2 separate regions of the Homo sapiens genome follow, and region 1 is linked to region 2. Evidence: promoter capture Hi-C in human tissues and cell types (Jung and others, 2019). All regions are on one chromosome and are shown on one strand. The core of a region is centred on a gene start or on the middle of the fragment in contact, and the rest is flanking DNA. Distances in the headings are between cores, read along the strand shown.

What was found. The method cuts DNA at HindIII sites, captures the fragments that hold promoters and counts their contacts. A contact is called where the count stands out against the background at its distance.
Region 1: a contact is called between a fragment that was not itself captured here and the fragment with the promoter of KIF21A in region 2, in 1 of the 25 tissues and cell types used here (lymphoblastoid cells).

What each region holds. Positions count from the first base shown.
Region 1 is chr12:38,319,706-38,324,696 of GRCh38, reverse strand. ALG10B (ALG10 alpha-1,2-glucosyltransferase B) reads right to left here. Exons shown (of 3, transcript NM_001013620.4): 3 at 1-4,536. The coding sequence ends at 3,484. Among named protein-coding and RNA genes, the nearest start is that of ALG10B, 5.4 kb to the right of the region's middle. The HindIII fragment of the contact is 4,339 bases long and covers 1-4,034 here.
Region 2 is chr12:39,441,136-39,446,564 of GRCh38, reverse strand. KIF21A (kinesin family member 21A) reads left to right here and starts at 3,445. Exons shown (of 38, transcript NM_001173464.2): 1 at 3,445-3,638. The coding sequence starts at 3,595. RefSeq lists enhancers at 2,775-2,834, 3,116-3,616, 4,435-4,504 and a silencer at 2,915-3,814. The HindIII fragment of the contact is 12,215 bases long and covers 6-5,429 here.

The DNA of each region.
Region 1 (4,991 bases), core at 616-3,115, 1.1 Mb after region 2:
GTATCATTTCTTGAACGACTAAAGGCAAAATGATCTGTTGTGCCAAGTTCTTACATAATCATTTTATCTGTTATCTATTTTGGAAAATTCACCAGCAAATGGCCATCTTTGAACTGCCTAGAAAATTTAACGAAGACATTTATCTTAAATTCGAAAGTATTGATAAGCATTCCTGTTTTAAAATAATAAATAGTTGAAAATAGCACCTTTTAATACATGGCATTCTTTTCTTAAAATGCCAAGTACTATATTTTATGTATTTTATAAAAAATGTGGAAGATTAACCTGTTTCTCTCTGAATGTAGATTTTCACCAAAACATCTCTTAAACAGCAGGGACTCAACACTTAAAAATGAACTAGAAGAGCTGGGCACAGTGGCTCACGCCTGTAATCCCAGCACTTTGGGAGGCGAGGCAGGTGGATTACCTGAGGTCAGGAGTTCGAGACCAGCCTGGCTAACACGGTGAAACCCCGGCTCTACTAAAAATAGAAAAAATTAGCCAGGCTTGGTGGTGGGCGCCTATAATCTCAGCTACTCGGGAGGCTGAGGCAGGAGAACTGCTTGAACCCAGGAGGTGGAGGTTTCAGTGAGCCAAGATCGCGCCATTGCATTCCAGCCTGGGGGACAAGAGCGAGACTTCTCCTCAAAGACAAAAACAAACAAAAAAAGATATAGAACAGTGATCCCTCCAAAGAGCAGTCTTCTTTAATTACAGGGTAGAATATTTTCCTCAATTTTGCCAGACTAGATCAGAGTGGAAGCTTCTCCTCTCAGAAGTATTCCTAAATACAAAATCCTTGCATTAATATTATCAGACAAAAAGTTACTTTCCCTAAATTACACATTCTTTTTTCAATTTTGACTTCCCAGATTTAGTTCTCCACTATAGTAAATTAATGACAAAAGTATAATTTCTTTGAGTGTCCTCTCTCATCTAATTTTTAAGAAGTCTGGGTAAAACACGTTTTTCTACAATCACTGTTATAACTAATGCCGATCTATTTTCTGAGTACTAGAGTACAACCAAAAAATGGCCTGCATTTATTACTCAAATTATACTTGTAATTTTCACCTGCACACAATTTTATATTTGTAAATGTAGACTCATCACTTAAAACTCAGAGAAGCAAAATTTGACATTGAGGGGAAAGTAATTTGTTCACTTATAGCTACTTTTAAAGTTTAGAAACATAAAATTATGTTAAAAGATGAGTTCTATTCACAATTCTAAGTTTACATGTCAAAGTTAACATGCCCAAATAATACTTTCCTGTAATGGAATGACAACCCAAAAAATACACTCAAAATAATAAACACAAAATTCAAAAAGTAACACAAAATAATCCTACCCCAGCAGTTGTTCCCTAATCTACAAAGTCAGACCAAAGGATTTCTCAACTTTCTTTCAATTCTGACTTTTTTTAATAGATAATGGAATCAAACACTAGTCACCTTTAGCTTTATATTACCTAAGAAGTCACTTATTTTTTAACCTCTCAGTAAAGATACTGAGAGTTATTTAAAAGGTATCAGCTAAGATATTATCTCCTGATCCAACAATCCCACTTCTGGCTATTTATCCAGAAGATTTGAAATCCGTATGTCAAAGAGAAGTCTGCACTCTATGTTCATTGCAGACAAGTCACAATAACCAAGTGATTCGATCAACCTAAGTGTCCATCCATGGATGAATGGATAAAGAAAATGTGGCATATATATACAAAAAAATACTATTCAGCCTTTAAAAAGGAAGAAATTGTGTCATTTGCAACAATATGGATGATCGTGGAGGACATTATGGTAAGTGAAATAAGCCAAGCACAGAAAGACAAATACCACATGATCTCACTTATTTGTGTAATCTAAAACAATTAAACTCACAGAAGTAGAGAGAAGAATGATGGTTGCTAGAGGCCGGGGATGTGGGAATAGGGAGATGACAATCAAAAGATACAAAGCCTCAATTAGATAGAAGGAATATGTTTGACTTTTTTTAGATCTATTACACAACATGGTGAATACAGCTAATAATTAAGCACTGTATGTACATTTCAATACTGTTGAGAGTACATTTCAAATGTTTTCATCACAAAATATGTCAAATATTTGAGGTGATGGATAGATTAGCTTTATTTAATCATCCCACATTATATTCAAAAATCATAATGCCACTTCGTACCTCATAAGTATATACAACTATAATTTGATATATAATAAAAAATTTTTAAAGGTAGTCTCCTAACAATCATATGAGGATTATCCTAAAATGTCCTTTAGTAACTGTCATGGACTGAAAAGTATCCCATGAAGAGACAATGTCTACTCAGAACATGTGAATACAAACTTACTTGGAACATGGGTCTTTGTAAACATAATTAAGGGTCTCCAGACACAATCACCCTAGATCAGGGTGGGCCCTACATTCAAAGACACTGTCCTTAAAAGGTAATGAAAAGACAGAGGGAAAGGCCGTGTGAACGCAGAGGCAGAGACTGGAGTGAAGATTGCTGTCTGCAATACTTAGACAAGATATGCCCATAAGCCAAAGAACTCCAAGAATTGCAGACAGCCACAAGATATTAGGAAACAGACATAGAATGGATTCTTCCTTAGAGCCTCCAGAAGGAACCAACTCTGCTGACACTTTGATTTTAGACTTCTGGCCTCCAGACTGTGAGGAAAATTGTTGTAAGCACCCAAGTTTGTGGTCATTTGTTATGGCAGCCCTGGGAAGCTAATACAATATGTATTTCATAAAGGAAATCCCCCTTTTAAAGGATTATAATCAACACAATTTGTCTTTGGCCATCATACATTTCATATTAGGAATTAGTGAAAGAGCTTCATCATTTCTGGATTGTAAACAATAACCAACAATTTGATGCCTAGACAGACATATATGAGTCTCTACTTTATCATTTACTATCTATGCATTTCTATTTTGACTTAGAATTAAAATTATATTTACTGAAATGTTAAGGAACTTTTCAGTCAAGAATATCACCTGACCATTTGTAAATATTTGCTAACACATTGTTATTAGGTTGGTACAAAAGTAATTGTGGTTTTGCCATTACTTTCAATGGCAAAAACCACAATTACTTTTGCACTAACCTAATAGTTCTCTCTGAAGAGAATAAATTAGTTCTAGTAATATGAAGCATACCCAGTTTTAATAAACTTATACATACAAAACATTCCCAAGCTTTGTGAGGGGCCAACATTACGAGAGCGATATGAGATATCTGAAAACAATTTTATTTTCCCATTATTCAGGCTTTTGAAGCAGGTCTTAAGCTTTCCCAGTTCTTTGCCACTTAATTTCTTACATATGTTTAAAATATATATTAAAAAAACTAATGTAATTTGAGGACCACCACTGCACCTAAAAGAAATTCCATGTTTTCCACCTATTCAGTTGTTCTTTGTAGAAATGGTCTAATTATTAAGTCCATTTTTACAGTTCAAAATATCACTGATATTACCACATAAACCTTTGAATGTCCTGACTATTTGGCCACTGAAAAGTCTTGTTCAGAAAGATGTAAAAAGTTATGAAATTAACAATTGCATAGCAACTCAGTTCACAAACAAGTCTGGATGTGGGAGGCAGAGTTATGTTAAGCCTATAAATGACATAAGGTAAAATGAAGTAACGAAATTCCAGCAGTTTCTGAGGAACTATAACAATGAACAAGCATATGAAAAACATTAAATTCCAAAAAATTGGCTTTGATTTCAATGAGTCAGCTATACTCCAACCAGCAAATATATAGGCTGGAACTAACAAATATTTCAGAATTGCATATCTTTGAAAAACTCTTTTCCACACATAGAAAGTATAATGTCTATTGTCTGCTAGCAAGTATTTATGAGCATAAGTGAATTTCCAAACTAAAAACACAGAGACTAAGGTAACCACCAAAAACAGAATTCCATGTTTCCAAACTAAGGAAAGAAAAGTCTTAATTTTGCTAGGAGACAGGAGATGAGGAAAAGAAAAAAAGAGAGTAAATGAAAAAAAGTAGAATAGTTGAGGAAAATGAAGACAGGCTTCATGACTACTCCGATCGCCAATAACAATTCCACCATTAACTACTACAAAAGCACAAAACAGAAATCCCAGAAGGATGTAGGGCCAAGTCAAACAGAAAAGCATACTCAAGTTTTTAAAGGACATGGAATAAGCCAAAAGAAACTGAAGAATTTTTCTGAATTCTGCAAATGGTCCTTTAATAGGTGGAAGTCTGTCTTCCTTCTTTTGTAGCTCAGTTTTCCAAGCCTCAGTTAACTTTTGTGCAATGACATTCCCTGCACAGAAGACAGCCCAGATGATATTTGTTTGCCGAAACATGAAGCCACAAAATCCAAGGAAGGCTGAAGTTTTATGATTTCCATAAAGACACATCAAATATGCAAAAAGAGTAAAAAACATAGATCCTGCTTCTGTATAATAAAGGAAGTTAAAAAAATAAAGTGTTGGAAATACTGCTAGTGTTAATGTTGACAAGACTCTCTGGATACTTGAGGCAGCCTTGGAGGAAGAAAAAACACAGATACAATTATTTTAATGATAAATGCTATTTCTGCTTACCTAATGAAGAGATTTATTTAAAACTACTCAACTACTCAAACCTTATTTAAATAAAATTAATCAATATTAATCTTATCTCTGGCTTTGCAAAAACACAATAAACATTTATAAGAACACTTCCTGGTACTTTTTATTTATACCTATCAGTTTGGAGACCGTGTGTATGCCAAAGCTTCTATAGCTTAACACAATTTGAATCAGGCTATGATTAGTTAAGGAGTTACTGAGTGCAAGATACCGACTAAGTTCTGTGGGGACTATGGAGATAAATAGGACACAATGCTGGCTCCATTTCCCTGAGCTTATGTTTTAGTGCCTTCAATAAGGATTCACTTAGCCATAATCACCACTTTCCTTTAAGGAAATCCTTCATAACACTACACAAGGGAGAATGT
Region 2 (5,429 bases), core at 2,196-4,695:
AAACATATCTTCCTGTGCTAGACAGTAAACTCCTTGTAAGCACTGACATTGTCTTATTCTTCTCTAAATCACTGTTGTCCCTCACTTTGTTTGCATATAATCACTTAAAATATTTATTGAGTCAATGATTGGAATAAGACTTAAACCACTCTTGCAGTAAAAGCTCTTCCCTTGGAACTTTCTTGAAATTAAGAAATTAAGATTATTTAGAGGAGTCATGGCCAGGCGCGGTCACTCACGCCTGTAATCCCAGCACTTTGGGAGGCCGAGGCGGGTGGATCACGAGGTCAAGAGATCGAGACCATCCTGGCCAACATGGTGAAACCCCGTCTCTACTAAAAATACAAAAAGTTAAGCCAGGCGTGGTAGCAGGTGCCTGTAGTCCCAGCTACTCGGGAGGCTGAGGCAGGAGAATGGCGTGAACCCAGGAGGCAGAGCTTTCAGTGAGCCGAGTTGGTGCCACTGCACTCCAGCCTGGGCGAAAGAGTGAGACTCCAGAGCGAGACTCCAGAGCGAGACTCCATCTCAGAAAAAAAAAAAAAAAAGAGGAGTCATAAGGAAAGGTGTTATAGCAGCTGTAAATGAATTGGAACTAAATACAAAATAGTATGTTAATTTTACAACTTTAGAAATTTGGGGAAAAATTACTGACTAGGTCATTAATGAGAATTTGAATTTCTACACTGCCTCTTCCTGAAACCATGTGCAATATGAACCCAAAGCCACAGCTGTTATTGGTGCTAATATTTTGTCCAGAAGTTCCAGCCTGGTGTCTTGGGACTAAAGTTGGCCTGAGACATATTTTGTCTGGTTTGCAGCATATGTAAATATTGTGCTGAATTAGTCGTTGGTGTTTAAAACTAAGGAGTTTTTTCATAAAGATCTGTTTTTCTCTTTTTCTTGAGAAGCAACATACATACAAGAAATAAAAATCTTGGCAGCATTGGATTTGCATTTCATCAAGGCAATATTCAGCCAGAGCTGAGGATGGCCACCACCTTTGGAAGGGGCCTGTGTCTCTATTTTATGATAGTCCTCACCTTTATCATAGTATTCATCTTGCTCTGCTCTTTTGAGCTACCTGCCTGGCTCCTGTAGGCATTTGTGTTTGTGACTCCCCTTACTGAGACATATATGTATACTATTGTTATTTAAAATGAGAACTTTTTTTGGCCAGGTGAGGTAGCTCATGCCTGTAATCCCAGCACTTTGGGAGGCTGAGGTGGGCGGATCACTTGAGGTCAGGAGTTTGAGACCAGCCTGGTAAACATGGTGAAATCCCATCTCTACTAAAAATACAAAAATTACCTGGATGTGTTGGCACATGCCTGAAATCCCAGCTACTCCGGAGGCTGAGGCACGAGAATCCCTTGAACCCCGGAGGAGGATGTCGATGTCGCAGTGAGCTGAGATCACACCATTGCATTCCAGCCTGGATGACAGAGCGAGACACTGTCTCAAAAAATAAAATAGGCTGGGTGTGGTGGCTCATGCCTGTAATCCCAGCACTTTGGGAGGCCGAGGCGGGTGGATCACAAGGTCAGGAGTTCAAGACCAGCCTGGCCAATACGGTGAAACTCTGTCTCTACTAAAAATACAAAAATTAGCTGGGCATGGTGGCACACGCCTGTAGTCCCAGCTACTCAGGAGGCTGAGGCAGAAGAATCGCTTGAACCCGGGAGGCAGAGGTTACAGTGAGCCGAGATCACGCCACTGCACTCCAGCCTGGTGACAGAGCAAGACTTTGTCTCAAAATAAAATAAAATAAAAAAGAACTTTTTTTAAAAAGAGGGTCTTAATTATACAAATTTCTCTTTAGTTTTCTTGTTAAATGTGCTGGGCCATTCTTGCTTTCCTTGCAGCTTTCATCAACAAAAGAAGCAAGGTGGCCAGCCCAGATCCACCCAGATATGGGCTTGCCAGGGCAGGGTGAAATGCAGCTCTGATTTGTTGATGGATAAATTTTGAGGCTAGGAAAGGCCCTCCAAAGAGTAGCCAGAGGAGAGCTTTCCCACCAATTTGATCTATAGAAGGATACTCAGCATCTCTGCCCTCTTTACCTCCCAGTTACATGTCTGTTAAGATTTAGGGGTAGTGAGATTAAGGGACAGAATAAATTTAAAACTATCTATAATTATATACCCCATCGGCCTTCCCATGGGTTTAAATCATCAAACACTTCTTGTTTTTCCCATAGTGTTGCAGCCTTCTCTGAGCCACACTGCTGTATCACTGCTGAACAAGATGATTAGGTATGTGATTGTAGATTGCAGGCATTTGAGGTAGTGCCTTTATTTGGATAGTGCCATTTAATTTGTGATACTATTTCGTATGAAGCCACATGTTTGTTTATAGAGATGTATGGAGCAGTCCACAAAAGATACTCTGTGGCAAAGCTAATAAAGGCTGTTTCCACAGAGCTATCTGAAGGCATGTGGAAGCACAATAGTGACAAACAGAAACCACAATGGGTCAATGTTGAGAGAATCCTGGGATTGGGAGGTGCTTTTTAAAGGCCAGAAGGGAAAGAAAATCAGTTTGGAAGGATTTACTACACAGCAGGTCTTGGTGGATATATTCAGTTCTGGGAACACTTGGCAGTACCAGGGTGCAGTTCATTTACCAGTGTACAAATGATTGAACAGAAAAGCATTCAGGAGTCTCGAATAAATCATTTCCATATCCCACCCGAGCTGGTAAACGGGCGATGAACTGTAGAACAGCCCAGCTGTCCAGAGACAGTGGACAAACCTGGGAGTCCGTTTAGCATGAATGACTGACTCCGGGGAGGGAGGAGGGAGGGCGTTCAGCTGGGGGCTAGGGAAGGGGGTCAAAGTCCAAGCTGCAGAGAGGACAATAAGGCTATGCGTGGGACACAAAGCCGAACCGCAGCAGCAGCTGCCTGGCTCCCGGCGCGCCGCTGAATCAAGCTTCGATTTGAGAAGGGACCTGGCAGCAGCGCGTGCACTAGCTGCTTCCTTCTCCCAGAAGAGCCTGGAAGGGCGCACAGGCTGGTCGCCCTCGGGCGAGGGCAGCCGGCGGCAGGCATCCCTCCCCCTCGCCTCCCTGCCCAGCAGCGCCAGGCAGTGTCCCGACGAGGGCAGGGCGGGGCGCAGGCTGGGGGAGGGCGAGGTGGGGCTGAGCCGCGCGGCGGCGGCTGACGCAGTGCGGGGCGAGGAGCCCGGAGCGCCCTGGCGGGCGTGGAGTCCCCAGCCTGGCCGCTGGGAGGCCGCGTCCCCACCGGAGGGGGCAGGGCGCACTCACCCGGCCGCCCTGAGGCCGCTGGCGGCCTGTTGGCTTCTCCACAGGCGCGCTCGCCGTTCAAGCGCGCTTTGTCCCCGCCCCAGATCCTGGGGGGTGAGCGGTGGAGAAGGGGCGGGCGCCCGCGAGCCGTGAATCACCTCCTCCTCTTGCTGCCTCAGCGCCGCCGCCACCTTTCCATTCAGTCGCCCAACATGGCTGGAGCGCGGCGGAGGTGAGCCGGCCGCCCGCCCGCAGACGCCCCAGCCTACTGCGCCCGAGTCCCGCGGCCCCAGTGGCGCCTCAGCTCTGCGGTGCCGAGGCCCAACGGCTCGATCGCTGCCCGCCGCCAGCATGTTGGGCGCCCCGGACGAGAGCTCCGTGCGGGTGGCTGTCAGGTGAGGACAGTCTGCCGGCGGCGGGCGGCGGGCGGCGGGTTGAGGGCGCGGCAAGGACCTGGCTGTGGCGCGGAGCACCGGCTACCGGGGTGGAGCGACCTGAGGGGCGTCCCGGCCGGGTTCTGCGGCTGAGGAAACTGAGGCAGTGAGTCCCCGCTGGCCTGGCACGCGCGGCCGGGTGCTGGCAGGGCGACTGCGCCGCCCTCACGCCGTCTGTGTTTGCAGGTGGCTGGCGGCTGCGCGGCGCCGGGTCCCTGGGGGGCGTCTTGACTTCTCTGGGGGAAAAGCCCTCGTCACTCCCCTCCGTCCCCTCGCGGGATCAGTCACCTCAGGTCTGGCCGCCTTGGGCTATCGCCTGTCCGGGAGGAGCTGCCTGTGCGCGGGGCTGTGGTGTTCTTTTTTATTAGTTCTAGAATGTCTGTCATACGTGTCCATGCAGCTCCGGCCTTCCCAGGCAGGAGACAAAGCATCTGACTATCAGCGCCGGCGACCGCAGGGCCCGCCGCGCGCCCACTCGGGTTCTGATGTCTGTGCAAATGAGACATCTTTTTCAGCATCACGGGGATCTAGACATGCCCCCGCGTGTGGGTAGAGGAGACAGATCTAGCCTCTTGGGTGTTGGAATGGGAGTGGAATTTAAGGTAAAATCCACTGGGGAGAGGTCTACAGAAGGAGGAAAACTCTTTAGCCAGAGGAAGGGTGAAATGGGTGACTGTGTGAAACATACTGACATTAGGCAGGGTGGATACAATGTAATCGTAACGTTACCCAGGCCAGGGTGTGAGTCTGGAAATACTAGGTACATCCTAGTATTGAAATTATATTTCGGCCAATGACAGGCACGAGTATTCGATGTAATTTCGGCTGTTTTGATACTTATCAAGAAGGAAAGCTCTGATAGTTGCTCATGGAAAATTGCAACATCATCACACTGTGTGAAAAATTAATGAAGCATTCATCCTAGAGTAAGTGCGTGGCTTTCACAGCTCTGAGAGTCTACTGTTAATTCACTTCTCCTTATTTATGCTTTAAGGATTATAAAAATAATCTACACTCCAAGGAATTAGGAACTATTAACAATCTCCCAGTCTTGTAGTCTTTCCAGAAAATTATTCTAAAAATTCTCCCCTCTAAACATTTCTATAGTTACTATTTTAGTGACACATCTTGGGTCAGGCATAGTAATGGCTGTTTCGTATACTTTGTATCTTTAATTAACTTAAATAATAAAATGAGTTTTTAAGTGTTTTTTTTTTTTTTTTTTTTACCACCCAGGGAGGTGACAGTTTTATGACTGGTTAGAATCACCTGTTATAAGGCTTTTGAAGTTTTAATTAGGCCTTCTTCGTTATTCTAGGGCTACTTATCCAATTGTTAGATTAGTCTGTTTCTCCTATTCACTGCTACTACCTCTCTTTTGGCCCTTTAATACCAGTTAATGACTGCACCAGGGTGGAGAAAGGGGAAGGAAAAAGACAGAAAACCCAATAAGAGGCAATTTTGTTAGGAGATCTGATCAAGGAAAGTGAAGAAGGTGCATAAAATATTACTGAAAACAGACAATTTGTCTGTTTTTAGACGTTTGAGATTTTTATATGTGAATTCTCTAGACTATCACAAGGCAGTTTGTTGACCATTCTGTTAAATCCGATGCTTCTTTGCCTGTAGAGCCATGGATGACCCTAAAGTGATGCTGACTGATAAATAACTTGTATTTTGTTTTGGTGTGTATGTTAGGACTTTTTAGGTGAATGAATGTGGGTTTGATTTTTGGGGAAAGGCTTTATAAAA